Linked DNA regions of Homo sapiens: all the other regions are linked to region 1. The links are contacts of gene promoters, found by promoter capture Hi-C in blood cells and fetal thymus (Javierre and others, 2016). All regions are on one chromosome and are shown on one strand. Each heading gives the region's core, a stretch centred on a gene start or on the middle of the fragment in contact. The rest is flanking DNA. Distances are from core to core; before and after follow the strand shown. Region 1 holds the start of SCARF2 (scavenger receptor class F member 2). Region 2 overlaps RTN4R (reticulon 4 receptor). Region 3 holds the start of LINC00896 (long intergenic non-protein coding RNA 896).

The links. Contacts are between HindIII fragments. The CHiCAGO score rates a contact against its expected background, and 5 or more counts as called.
Region 2: a contact is called between a fragment that was not itself captured here and the fragment with the promoter of SCARF2 in region 1, in 1 of 17 cell types (erythroblasts). The highest score is 5.9, in erythroblasts.
Region 3: the fragment with the promoter of LINC00896 here is called in contact with the fragment with the promoter of SCARF2 in region 1 in 2 of 17 cell types (M1 macrophages and erythroblasts); the score reaches 6.3 in M1 macrophages.

Annotation. Positions count from the first base shown.
Region 1 is chr22:20,434,738-20,439,121 of GRCh38, forward strand. It overlaps SCARF2 (scavenger receptor class F member 2), which reads right to left and starts at 3,088. Exons shown (of 11, transcript NM_182895.5): 1 at 2,845-3,088. The coding sequence starts at 3,017. It overlaps LOC107985588 (a long non-coding RNA gene), which reads left to right and starts at 3,259. Exons shown (of 2, transcript XR_001755623.2): 1 at 3,259-3,774. The HindIII fragment of the contact is 6,009 bases long and covers 115-4,384 here.
Region 2 is chr22:20,242,291-20,246,606 of GRCh38, forward strand. It overlaps RTN4R (reticulon 4 receptor), which reads right to left. Exons shown (of 2, transcript NM_023004.6): 2 at 1-820. Among named protein-coding and RNA genes, the nearest start is that of MIR1286, 4.8 kb to the right of the region's middle. RefSeq lists enhancers at 417-1,009, 1,425-1,474. The HindIII fragment of the contact is 2,676 bases long and covers 1,729-4,316 here.
Region 3 is chr22:20,204,782-20,209,101 of GRCh38, forward strand. It overlaps LINC00896 (long intergenic non-protein coding RNA 896), which reads left to right and starts at 1,551. Exons shown (of 1, transcript NR_026919.1): 1 at 1,551-3,756. It overlaps LOC105372862 (a long non-coding RNA gene), which reads right to left. Exons shown (of 3, transcript XR_938009.3): 2 at 3,192-3,282; 3 at 1,237-1,464. It overlaps LINC02891 (long intergenic non-protein coding RNA 2891), which reads right to left and starts at 137. Exons shown (of 4, transcript NR_038460.2): 1 at 1-137. RefSeq lists enhancers at 1,668-1,907, 3,116-3,646. The HindIII fragment of the contact is 30,249 bases long and covers 1-4,320 here.

The sequences.
Region 1 (4,384 bases), core at 1,838-4,337:
TCTCCCTCGTAGAGCATTAGTTCTGTGATTCAAACCCACTGTGAGTTCTTACATCTTCAAGTTGGCTCATGGGGTCCATACCTGTCCATGTTCTCCCCCAAATCCAGGCAGAAAAGCTTCTCTGCCTGCCACACCCTTCAGACCCCACACCAGCCCGACCCTCCTGCTGCCCCGCCTGGACACCTCTCCTCTGGTTTCTGTCCCCATCCTCAGATCTCTCTTGTGTCCACACTAGCTCCCTCGGGAAGCTCACTGAACACTGACAACACCTTGGACCCTCCAGCAGGGCTCTCCCCATCAATGCTAGACTTGCAAATCCAACTGCCCAATAGATGATGTCACCAGAAGGAGACCTCATGGGCCTCATGCCCAACCAGCCCAAACCTGAACTCTTGACCTCCTTGCACCCTGAGTCTTCCCTGCCTCAGATAACCCTGCCTGTCCTTTCAGGCTGGGAAGCTGAGACCTGGAGAAGCATCTCTGACTCTTCTTTCTTGTCTACACCAGATCCATTGAGAAAAAAGACGCTGAGCTCTAGCTTCTAAACGATATCTAAAATGGGATCACTTCCTCCTTCCCTATCCCAGCCTTGTGAGAGCCACCCTCCATCTCCCTGGCTTTTTGTAACTGGCCCCAGCTTCCACCCCCTGCCCCCCAGGGTGCGAAGTGTTTGCCACCTGGCAGCCAATCCTGGTCAGATCCCACCCTTTCTCTGTACAAAGCCCCCAGGGGGTCCCATGGCCCTCAGAAGAAAAGCCCAAGTCTTCTGAGCAGTGGCAGCCCACGGTGGCCTGCCCACCCTCACTCTCTGGCAGCTCCTCCGCCAGCCCCTCCTGGACTCTGCCCAGCCTCCTGGATCCTTCCTGTACTTCCACAGGCCCTCTGCCTTGGGAACCTTGCCCCAGACACCCACAGGGCCTCCGTGCTCTTCTGCAGGCCTGTGCTCACTCACCACCTTCTCAGCCGTTCTCCTCAGAACACCCTAAAGGAAACAGCACTCCCCAACCCAACACCTCCCAGCTCTTGCTAGATGTCTAGACACACTTGCTTTTCTGGACTGTGTCTCCTCTGCCACAGGGTCAGGGTCTCCACTGCAGCTTCCCTACACCAATACAGGCCTGGCACAGTGTAGGTGCATAGGATTTTACTGGCTTTGCACTCTCCTCTCCCCATCCTCCTGCCTCCCAGGAAAGGGAAGGGCTGATGGAAGCCTTGCAAGATGTGGGAGGACAACAAAGACATGACCCAGACCCCAGGTGGGCAGTGCCCAGAGTGGCTGTCCTTCCCATCGACCCTTGCCACTCATGACCACAGCGATCTCCACTTAGCCCCATGAGGGGGTTGTGATCACTATCCCATTTTACAGAGGTGGAGACAGGCCCAGAGAGGTCAAATGACTTGCCCAGGTCCACACAGCTGGGTAGGGTGGCACCAGGATGGGAACCCAAACCCAGGCTCGGTTCCTGGAGCAGGCGCCTCCTGGGAGGTCTGCAGACCAGGGGAGCGGGAGCAAAGGGCTCTCAGGCTCCGGACAGCTAGAGCCTGGCACCGGACCCCCATTCCTGGTCCCGGGCCTGTCTGGGAAAGAGGGCTGGAGTGAGTAGACAGAGACCACGGCGATCGCGCCCTCCCCCTCTCCAGGCACCGCCCCGCCCGCCGCCGCCGCTGCATTCCTGGGGCCGGGGAGGCCCGGGAGTCCGCGGCGGCGGCATCGATGCGAAGCAGATGGCGGGCCAGGCCGGCCCCCGCCCCGGAGGCGGGGCTCGCAGCGGGGAGGGGTCTGCGCGCCTCCGGACCAGAGTTCGGAAACCCCGCGCTGCCCCCTCGCAGCCCCTTGTCTCTGGCGCCGAGCCCCTGGACTCGGCTTGCCCCGGGTCCGTGGCTCAGGCGCCCCGACGCGACCCAGCTCGGAGCCCGGCGGCCGCCTCTGCGGCTGCCAGCCCGTGCGGCGTCTCCAATCCGCGCCAAGGCGCCCCCACACGCCCGCTCCTCACCCCTGCGTGGAGATGCCCTTGACCTTGTGGCCTTTGGCCAGCCCACCGGCTCCCCCGACCCCAGCTCCTAACTCCTGGCGTCCGGGGCTCACCTCTCTGCCCTCCGTGCAAACTCCCGGACTCGCCCCCCCACCGGCCGGGCCTGTCGCCTGCCTGTCCCACACTGGCTTCCCCAGCCGGCGCCCCACATTTGCGCGGCCCCTTCTTGCACCCAGAATCCCCACCTGGTTGTCGCCAGGGTTCCCACATCCTCCGGTCCCCTGTGCCTGTCATAGTCCTTCCGCCTCCCGCTTCTGGTCCACTTCGAGCGCCGGCTCCTCGACGCTCGCCTGGGTCACCACCCTCCCACCCGCGCCCGCTCTAAGACGCGAATCTGTCTTTCCAAGTCTGGCTTGCTCCAGGACCTCCCCGGCTAGCACCGCTCCTCCTCCCCTGACCTTCCTCCTCACTCCCACTCCCGGCTCCAGTCGGACTAGTGCGGGGCTTTAGCACATGCAGTTCCTTTGGCTTGAATGCCCTTCCCCAGCTTTTCCCCGTGGACTTCACAACTCGGTCAAGGGTCCCTTTTTCCAGGTCTTTCCTGATATCCCGGACAACGCGTGTCATCCCCTGGGTGCCCACGGCACTCCATCCTCCCCTCAGGTGACTTCTCGTCCAGGGTTCCCTGGGATGCACTGTCGTGGCCCATGGCCGAGGCTGGGCCTGGAACGGAGCCGCGCTGGCTAGGGAGCCGAAGGGGCCCACACTTGGCGTAGGAAGGTTCCGGTAGCCCCCTCCCAATGCCCGGCGCCGCCACACCACTGCCCAGAGCGTCCCTCTCGCCCCCTCCCCCAGCCAGGCCGGCTCCTACCCGGGAGCACGGCACACGTTGCGGCCGCGAGGGTTCAGTTCCTGAGGCGCCACGGTGTCCGGCAGCATCCAGAGCAGCAGCAGCAGCAGCAGCGACGGCAGCAGCGGTGACGGCGGCCCCCCGGCTCCCCGGCGCCGCGCCGGCCCGGCCCCCCGGGGCCCTGCGCCCTCCATGAGGCGCGGGGCAGGCGCGGGGCGGGCACGGGCGCGGGTGCGGCCGCAGCGAGAGCGGCCGGAAGCGGAGTGCGAGGCCGGGCGGGGGGCGGCAGGAGGGGCGCCGAGCCGGGCAGGAAATTCCACATCGGCTCCCTGATCCCGGGCCAGCCGCGGCCGGCCAGGCGGCAGCGCCCGCCCCGCGCTCCAGACCCCACCCTCCGGCCTAGCCACCGCCCCTCCGCGCAGCCCCCGCCCCCATTTGGCCGCTCGCAAACTTGGGGGCGAACTTGGAGGAGGCCCGCCGAGCGCTGGTGGAGGGAGGGTCCGCCCGAGGAATCCCCGGTTCCCGCGCCTTTCCCTCCGCTCCCTAGACATCTACCGAAGCAGCCGCCCCTGCGCGCCCACTGCGTAGGCCAGGCCCGGGACGGGAAGGCGGATCGGGGACACGGACGCGACTCCGCAAGCCCACCCCCGCTCCCAGCGCCTCGGAACCGGCCAAGGGAGTGGGGCCCGCAGACAGCCCAGGTCGAGGCCGAAAGCCAACTCCACAGCACCCCACCGCGAAGTCCTTGTAGTGCTGGGGTGTGCGGTCAGCTCCCCCTGCGCACTCCTGCGCACTCAGAGCTCGCAAGGGGCGGACCGAGCAGGATGCTTGAGGCCTGTGGTAGACTCGGTCCGGACCAGAGGCCTGGGGGAAGGGGTCTCCGTAGGGACGGATGGGAGAGATACAGAGGAAGTAGAATGGCCAGGCTGTGGACTGCGGTAGGAAGTAGAGGTAAAGACAGAAGGAGACCCCCGGGATGGAAACCCTGCAGTCCTAGTTGAGGAGTGAAGGGGGCTGGGGGAGCCTGGGCGGTGGATTCTGCTGGCTGTCGGATTTCCAGGAGAGGCTGGGGCTAGAGAGTGGGAACTCCTGCATCAGGTAAGGTGGGTAACAGCACAGAGCAGAAGGAAGGTGTGGGAAGGGAGCAAGACAGAGGGACAGGCCCTAGGGAGCCAGCGGGGAAGCTGGACTTGGACTGGGAGGCAGCAGGGTGCGGGTCCCCGGGGGGCAACTGGGGCAGACCGACTCTGGAAGTTGGGCAGGGAGCACAAATGTCCCGTGTGTAGCCAGGTCCTAGTGAGGATGTTTGTCTTTTGGGGACTTGAGAGCTGGCAGAAGGCCTAAGCAGGGAGCGGGCACCTCCGTTCTTTGGGGAGCAGGCCACATGCGGCCCACAGGCTCACTGAGGGAGGGCAGGCAGACTCTGTCCAGGTGTGGCCAGATAGCCCCGAAGGGTGGGGCTGGAGGAGGGGGCTTGGAGGAGGAGCCACTGAAAGGCCCAAGGCCATGGGCATCACCAGGCTGGCACAGGCAGAGAGTGGGATGGGGAGGAGCAGGCCCC
Region 2 (4,316 bases), core at 1,817-4,316, 190 kb before region 1:
GAGCCGCGGAACTTCTGCAGCCAGGCCCAGAGTGGGCGTGCCCGGCAGTCACACACCCAGGGGTTGTCGTTGAGCCTCAGGTACTGCAGGGCACGCAGGGGGGCCAGGGCCTCAGTGGGCAGCGCTGATAGATTGTTGGCAAACAGATAGAGTGTCATGAGGCGGCCAAGGTCACGGAAGGCATGCGGGTGCACATGGGCCACGCGGTTCTGGTGCAGTAGGAGACGGTCGAGGCTGTGCAGCCCACGGAAGGCGCGCTCGGGCACGCTGGAGATGCGGTTGCCGTGCAGGAAGAGGTGTGTGAGGTTGCCCAGGTCGCGGAAGGTGTCATCAGGCAGTGCCTGCAGCGCGTTGTCCTGCAGGTAGAGGTACTGCAGGGCAGCCAGGCCGCGGAACAGCCCCGGGCCCAGCTCCTGCAGGCCGCAGCGGTCCAGGTGCAGCGTGTGTAGGCGGCCCAGGCCGTGGAATGTGGCAGGGTCCACAGACCGGAGCTGTGCATTATCGCTGAGGTCCAGCTGCTCCAGGAGGGCCAGGCCAGTGAAGGCAGCCGCATCAATTCGGGCCAGCACATTCGAGTGCAGCCACAGGATGGTGAGGTTGCGGCAGGCACGGAAGCTGGCAGCTGGCACATGCGAGATGCGGTTGCCGTGCAGGAAGATGCGCTGGCTGGCAGCAGGGATGCCCACGGGCACAGCCTGCAGGCCCTGCTGGGGGCAGCTTGTCGTCACCTTGGGCTCATTGTAGCATACGCAGGCACCTGGGCATGGGGCTGCCACCTGCCAGGCCTGCAGCCACAGCACCCATGCCAGCAGCCGGCTCCCTGTGGGCAGAAGACAGAGTGGTTAGCAGGAAGGGCAGGGGTACTGGAGAAGCTGGAGGTTTTGCTAGAGCCAGGTGGGCCCCGGAGATTGGGTCTCAGGAGGACCTGGGGCTGGGTCCAAGATGTGGCCACCACCCCCGGGAATCGCAGTGTTGGGATCCCTGCTTCACAGGCCTCATGGACGATGCTGGGCTAGAACATGCCTTGGAGCCATGCACTCCACCCTGGAAGCCACATCTGCAGACTCCCCATACCACACCCAGGAGCAGCCCACTGGGTCACCAGGGGCACTCACTTGAAGGCCTCCTGGAATGGACACTGGTGACTGCAGGTACCTCCTCAGGACTCCAGTGAACACAGAGCCCGCATTGCAGGAGTCCCCGGGGGGTCCCAGTGGGGGTTCCACCCACAGGGCCTAGGAAACACTGCAATGGGGCTGGGGTCCCTCTGGGCACGTCTATCTCAAAAACGGGCGCCTGGATGCCCGAGGGCGGGGGTGGAGGGCAAGTGTGTCCAGGGCTTAGGAGGAGTCGCGTCCCACAACCACCCAGGCAGCCTGCTCCCTCCTCCACACATCCTCCTTTCAAGCACTTCCTGACTTGGCAGGAACCCTCCTGAAGCCTCCGCCCCCTGGCCTCATTCTCTGCTCCATCTCCTCCCTGGGAGGAGTTCACTCCTCCCCAGCCAACCCCTGCAGTGCCAGCTGCCTGCACCCCTCCCACCCAGACGCCATCAGCAGGGATAGCCTCCCAGTGGGTTCTCCCCCAGCCCCAGGTGCCTGCAACCCCTCCTCCATTACAGGGCCAGATACACCTGGGGCTTCACCAAGGCCCTACATGGGCAGTAGTCCCTCCCGGGGTGCCGCATCCAGAGCTGGTCTCACCAGCGGGGTCACCCACTCCGGAGTAAGCTTTCCTGCCTCTCATTCCACCATTGAGCCCCCACCCCTTTGGAATGCTGAAGATTCTTTCTGCCTTCAGCAGTGAGTCTATTAAAATGTGAATCCCCCTGGGAAGGTTATGGCTTATCAGCTAACACTTGAGTTATCAGCTAACACCTGCGTTGACAGCTAACACCTTCCACGGCAGCTGGCTAAGAGCAGGATTCTGCAGACATGAGGCCGGCTAAGTGCTGGGGTTGGAGCCGGGCAGGAGGAAGGAGTGGACCACAGGCCAGCTTCCCCAACCTAGAACTGTGACCCTGGGGCCCTCCTACCCACATGGGGCCCCTGCCCCACTGGGTCCTCTCTACTTGGGCAGACAGTGCAGTCGCCCTAAACGCAGAGCCCAGCAAGCCCAGCACGCGCAGTGACCGCTGGGCATGTGCGTCCTCCCAGACTCAGGTTCATAGGTCCTCAGACCCCCTCCCCACAGCCTGGGGGCCTCCTCTGCCAAACCCCCTGCCCCAGGGCCATTTGTTGGCTACCAGGGAGATGGCAGCCCAGGGATGGGGGTCCGGAGGCCCCTCCCTGGGTGGGCTGGGTGAGGAAAGCACCTGGCCTCGTGTTCTGTTTAAACTGCGGACACCCTCTCTGCTCTCTTTCTACACACTCTTCCTAGGAAGGTGGGGCCTGACCATGTCAGCTCCCCACTGCTGTCTCACCTGCTGTCACCAGAGGGAAAACTGTGCTATGTAAATGGCACTTCCTGTCCTGGGGCCAGGTGGGGTGGAGGCCCCACATGCTCATGGGGCAGGGTCAGGACTCACTGCCACATTATCGACCACACCACACCACTGACTGTGGGGGTCACCAACTGAGCCTTGTCACCAACCATACCATGCGGCTGACTGCACCCACCAAGACTAGCCACCCATGGTGGCCACGCCCGCCACATTACCACTGAGCCATGCCACCATCCCACCACTGTCCTGTGGCTCCAGGCCCGAAGCTGTGGGCTGTGAGTCTGGCTGTGGTCAGGGCTCAGCTCACTCGCCTTGAACCGAGCCCTGTGCTCATGGATCTCCCTCCCGAAGCAGCTGTGTGTCCACTCTAAACATGCCCCCAGTGAGGTGCCAGAACTGAGCCACACGGTGGTGCGGGGTCGGGGGAGACAGGGGAGGACATGGGGGAGTGGCCACGTGGCGCTCAGTTCTGCCAGGAAGTGGGTATTGGGCGCAAAGACACGGCTCGGTTCCTGCCGAGACAACTGCTTTTCGTAAACCAACTTCTGAGAGTCGGGTGAGGTGGGCTCTCTCCTCGCTGCAGCCATGGTAATTGGCTCCAGCCTGGCCCCCCTTGGGGCCTGCCCGCTGGTCTCCATGGCAACCCCTCTGCTGAGCGAGCAGGAGGGGGCATCTTTTTATGAGATAATCAAACCCAACTTTGCAGCATGGGTTTGTCTTCACAGCCGGGGCCCTGGGATGAGGGAGACGCAGCCAGGTGGGGGGAGGGTGTCCTCTGACCCCATCCCAGGGGCCAGACTGGTGACTCACCAGCCTCCTCCCTGGCCCCATGGTGGACTGCAGCCCCTCCCCACCCCAAAAGACCTCCCTGGCCCGTGGCCCCTGACCTGTCCCCTGGGCTCTGCAGCCTCAAGGCCACAAGGCCTCTCTGGCCCTCTCGCCCACCTTTCTCTCTCCTCTATCTGCCTGGCCAACTCTAATAGGATGCTCTACTGTCCTTCTGGAGATAGCATGGCCTCCCTGCCTGCCATCACCCCACTTTCCACTCTCACCCAGTCTCACCCTGGCCCCAGTTCTCACGGAGCCTCCAGTATGAGCTCTGTCCTTCCTGCCCCTTGCACACGGGGTGAGCAACCAGCCCTGCCATGGCCCCAGCTCTCACAGAGAAACCATGGATAGCGTGCCTGTCCACCGTCCCCACCCAGGTTGGCCCTGCGGCCACCTGAGCCTGCGAGGGCCCCAGAGGGCTCTCCTCAGCCTCCAAGCTGCACACAAACTGGTACATCTGTGCCTCTCCCACCCTCCCAGGCCAATTAACATCTCTTCTTTCCTCCAGGGTCTCCTCCTGGGACCTCCCCGGAGGATGGCCCTGCTGGCTGTCAGGGCTGGGTCATAGCTAGGAGCTCCTGTCTCAGCCCAGGCCTGGCTCAGGAGCCACAGTCAGGGGAGGGCTGGCTCTCCTGCCTGGAAGGCTCTGAGCTTTCCCAGCGGGGACAGTGACCGGATACTGACCCAGAGCCTCTCCCTGCGGCAGCCAGACTGGGCAGGGTAGGACCCAGGATCACCAGGCTGAAGGCCCAGGAGGCTGGGCAGCAAACAGTCCAGGACGCATCCCCCTGACGGGAGCAACAGGCAGCCCAGGTGGGCACCTGCACCATCAGTTCTGGTGAGTGGAGGGCTGTTCACGTTCACTGCAGGAGGGAGTGTGGCGGGGGGAGGAGGAGGTGGGAGGAGAGCGAGGAGGGCAGGAGCAGAGGGGAGGGGTGGAGAAGGGGGATGGGGAGGTGGCGGTGGGAGGCTCTGGGGATATGCCCAGCCATTGGGCAGGCAGGCGGCTGCTGAGGTCAGCAGCTCACCCCAGCAGCCCAGGGAG
Region 3 (4,320 bases), core at 301-2,800, 230 kb before region 1:
GGACCTGCCAGGTCCACGGAAGTGGTCCTTGTAACTCTCTCCCTGGTGGCAGCCTCTGGTGCATTCCGGCAGGGGCAGCCCCTCCTCATCACAGGGACCCTGTGTGCCAGGCCCCAGCTGCGTTGCCGCTGAATTATGGATTTAATAGCAGAGAAGCCTTGCAGGCCGCCTGTGCTGGCTCGGGAAACCGGGGCCCAGCCGGGGCCTGTCACGGTCCTGGTGCCGCCCTGCTTCCTGTCGGCGCCACGGAGCAAGCGGAGAGATTTATCTTCCCGGCTTTAAGAGGTACTAACGGAGGAGGCTGAGAGGCAGGAGCTGAATAATTGATGGCCTTCTCTGGCTCAGGATCTGCTGAAAATGACACGGTGCAAGGCAGAGGGGCTGAGAGTGCTGACCACAAAATGCTGAGAAGCCACTCCAGGGCGGTCACGGCCAGAAGGAGGACCCCCACTCAGGACGGGGTCACAGGCATTTGGGGCGGGTGTCAGAGGCTCCTGCCCTGGGTCATTCCAGGGGGCCAGGATACCCAGAAGCTGGGCCTAGAGGCCCACAGGGCTGGCTCACCCCCACTTCCCTCTCACACGCCTGCCATCACCGGTGCTTCAGCCCAGCAACCCCATGGCTCGTTGGCCCCGTCCACAGCCCCCACTGCCTCCTGTGTGCTGGGCGTGGGCCTCTGAGCTCTACTCTCAGCCTCCTTAGCCCCAGGAGAGGAGTGGAGGACAGGGGTTTAACGTGGGGTGTGGTGCGGAGCGGGGAGGGCTGTGGCGCCCCCTCAGCCCCTCCTTTCCTAACAGCCTCAGCCTCCCCCCTGGAGAATCCCCTACCTGCTGGGCACATCTGGCCTCTCCCCACCATTCTGTCTCCAGCCGGGAGATCTCTACCCAGTGAAACAGTGAAACAGGAAGGGTTCCCTGGTTACCCCGCGCAGGGCGCAGGGCATGCAGCGGGGGAGTGGCTCGCTTCTTCAGTGCCCCACCGCTCACACCTCTAGGGGAGCATACAGACGGGCAGGCTGTGGGGCTCTGACCCCATGGCAGTGTCTGGGGGTGAATGTTTACAGCTCTTGAAACCCCAGTGGGAGTGCGTTACCGGGTGGTCTTTTAGTCTAGCGGTCTGTAGGTGGCTGGTGAGAGTGAGCTCAATTAGACCCCTGCCTTATAACAAGGACAGAGGAATTTCTGTATCCCAGGGTTTCTTGCCTTGGTGTACCAAAAAATTGGATCACACGTGGGCTTGGAGAATGAGTGCAAGGTTTTATTGAGTGGAAGTAGCTCTCAGCAGATGGGGGAGCCAGAGGGGAGATGGTTTTCCCCTGGAGTCAGGCAACATTCTCGGGATGTCCAGCAGCTTGTCTTCTTCCACCAGTGTGTTCCTCTCCCCACACAGAGGCTTCTGTCTCTGCCTTGCTAGGGTCTTGGGTTTTTATAGGCATAGGATGGAGGCATGGCAGGCCAGGGTGGTCTTGGGAAATGCAACATTTGGGCAGGAAATGCCTGTCCTCACCTAGGTTCGTGGGGGTGGAGCCCTAGGCAGGGACCACGCCCTTCTCTACGGAGCACTTCCCGTCCCTCCTCTGTATCATTTAAAGGGACCACGCTTTTCCCTTCTCAGCACTTCCTTTCCGTATCAACAGGAGGCCAGGGACTGGCTGGACCCCTAGGAGCCAGGTCCTACGGATAGGTGAGCCGGCCCCCCAGGGCAAACACCTCCACTGGGCAGACCTGACTGCCCAGAGCTGGATTCTTTACTTGTAAAAGGGGCCATGAGTGACACAGGCTCGGCCTGCTGTGCCTTGAGGAAAGGAGAGGCTAAAAATTCTGCCTTCTCTCCTAAAGCCAGCCGGGCTCTTTATGGTGGGGGAAGGAAGGATTTGTTTATTTGCACTCTTCTGAAATAAAAGTTCTCTATCCTCCCTCCTGGCTGGAGTTGGGAGGGCCCCATGGGTGGGCTCTGAGATGTGGCACACGGTACCCAGGGCAGGGCTGGGAAGGGTGGGGTGCAGGGGCCTCCCTGGCTGCAGGGCCCACCCACCAGGTGCCTGGGCTTGCTGCACTGAGCAGGCATGGGCTCTGGCCCCCCTCACTGTCCCTTCCAGGCCCAGCCTGTGTTCAGGGCCCAGGACAGGGTCTGGCCAGCAGGCCCCAGGCCTCCAAGATGTTCTCAGCCTCTGGAGTGTGTGTGATGATGAGCACTCATGGAGCTTCCTGTATGCTGGGCCCTGGGCTTCTGAGAGGGCCACCGGGTGGCGACTGAGTCACGAGGTGGAGGGCCAGTCCCAGGGACTCCAGGTGACCTCGTGTCGGCACCACGCCCTTCTCCCATGGGCAGTCCTGGGCGCCCCTTCCTGGCCTTGGGCCCAGTGGCCTGTGGCCTGACCCCGTCCACTCCTGCTTGGTTGTCCCAGCAGCAGCAGGAGCCCATGCTGGAGAAGGTGTTATGGGGCAGGTGGAGGGCCCGGCTGACTCAGATGATCCCCCAAGTTTCTTTTCAATGAACACTTGTTTAGTGCAGTTTTTCCTCCTCAAATCCCCCTCACACAGGCAGACACCCTCTTGGCCCAGGGTAATCTGCTGAGCCTTTGCTCAAATATAGCAGCTTTGCTGCTTTCTAAACACAACTAATCCAATTTGGGATTTGGGGATTCGAGGTGGGCAGCACTGGGCCTCAGATGAGCCCCCATCACCCCAGACCCATGCAGGAAGAGCCAGGCAGGGTGGGGCCCTGGGGCCACCTGGTGGGCTCAGGGCCAGGGCATCGCGATGTCCCCATCCTTCACACTACGGGGCTTCCTGGCTGCAGAGTTGGGGACTCAGCTGGGAATGCTGGCCATAGAGGCAGAGAGCCCCCATCCTGCTGGGCCAGCCCTGACCTGGCTTCTCCAGGGTGGCCCAGTGTCCCCTTCTGCCCTTCCCCTGGCTCCCACCGTCCACATCCCTCTATCTGCCCACCCTGGACAACAACCAGCACAGTGCAGTGTGGCCCTGCAGTGACACCACCTGCAGAGAGGTCAGGCCCAGCCTCCCCCGTCTCCTAAAAGGCCAGCAGGTCCCAGGAGCTGGGGGTGGGGCCTGGCTGTGGGGCCTCCATGCCCCAGGGGCCAGGGCAGACCCTCCTTAGCCGGCAACCACTGCAGATTCCTCCCCTGGCCAGCACTCGGGGACCTCCCTGCCCCTGCCCCGTCCCCCTACCTTGCCTGCTGAGACATAGGGCTCCACGGGTCTCTCTCCTGGGGCCGGGCTGACTGTGGCCTGCGAGGGGCAGTCATCGTGTTGGGTTTTCCTGCCAGAGGCAGAAACCACAAAATTACCTGGAACATACACGCCCCAAGTGACAGATTCAATTCAATTCCACAAATATTGACCTCGCGTCTAATCCACTCGTCCTCCAGTGCCAGCTCATTCCTGAGAAGCCCAGCCTGGCAGCCGCAGATCCCATTTAATCCCAGCCCCACAATGTCACCAGCTCGCAGCTTGGGAGCTGGGCTCATCCAGGCCCTGGCAGGTGGGGCCAGAGCTGGGCTCTGACCTCTGTACCCACACTTACCACCATGTAAAGTGCTGGGAAGAGGGGTGGGGAGTCACGGCAAGTTGAGGGTCCAGGCTTGCCCCAGCTCGCCAGATGCTCGCCCTGGCTGCCCTGACCTAGCAGCTAATCTCTGCGGGGCACTGCGGCTACATGGTGACTCCAGCACGGGGACATTTATCAGAAATGGAACTGATGGATTAAAGTGGAACCAAGCGAATTGATTTTTCTCCCTGGGCACTGAAATGCTGCGCTTAATCAAGCGATCAACTCCGTGGGCAGGGTGGCTGTGGGGACGGAGGTGGGGGACAAGGGGATGGTGGCCATGGTGGGGACTGAAAGGTGGCTATGGGGACAGATGAGGTGAGCCAGGTGGCCCTGGGGTCGAGCTCCAGCCCAGCCTCTGGCAAAGAGGCCCTGTGTGCAGAAGTCCGGGTGTGATGCCCTCCCCCCACCGATTGTGTGATACCGGCCAGTCCTGTCCCGGCTGAGCCTCGGTGGCCTTGATGTAACCCTGTGGGGTCTGGTGGCAGGGACTGATTCACTCATTTGCTCATTCATTCATGTGTTTGACACACACTGCAGCAAAGGAAAGGTGAGAGCAGCCACAGGCTGGCCAGGGACGATTCAGACTTCAGAGTGTAGCGTGCCCGCCCCTCCTCTTGTGAGGTCCAGCCTTGGTGTGTGTGGATTCCCAGGCACCCTCCAGGTCCACCCTCCACTCTGCAGTGCCCCGCCCACCTGTCCACATACTCTGTTCTGTGGTTTGATCGCCATCCTTCTGCTCTGCGGCCA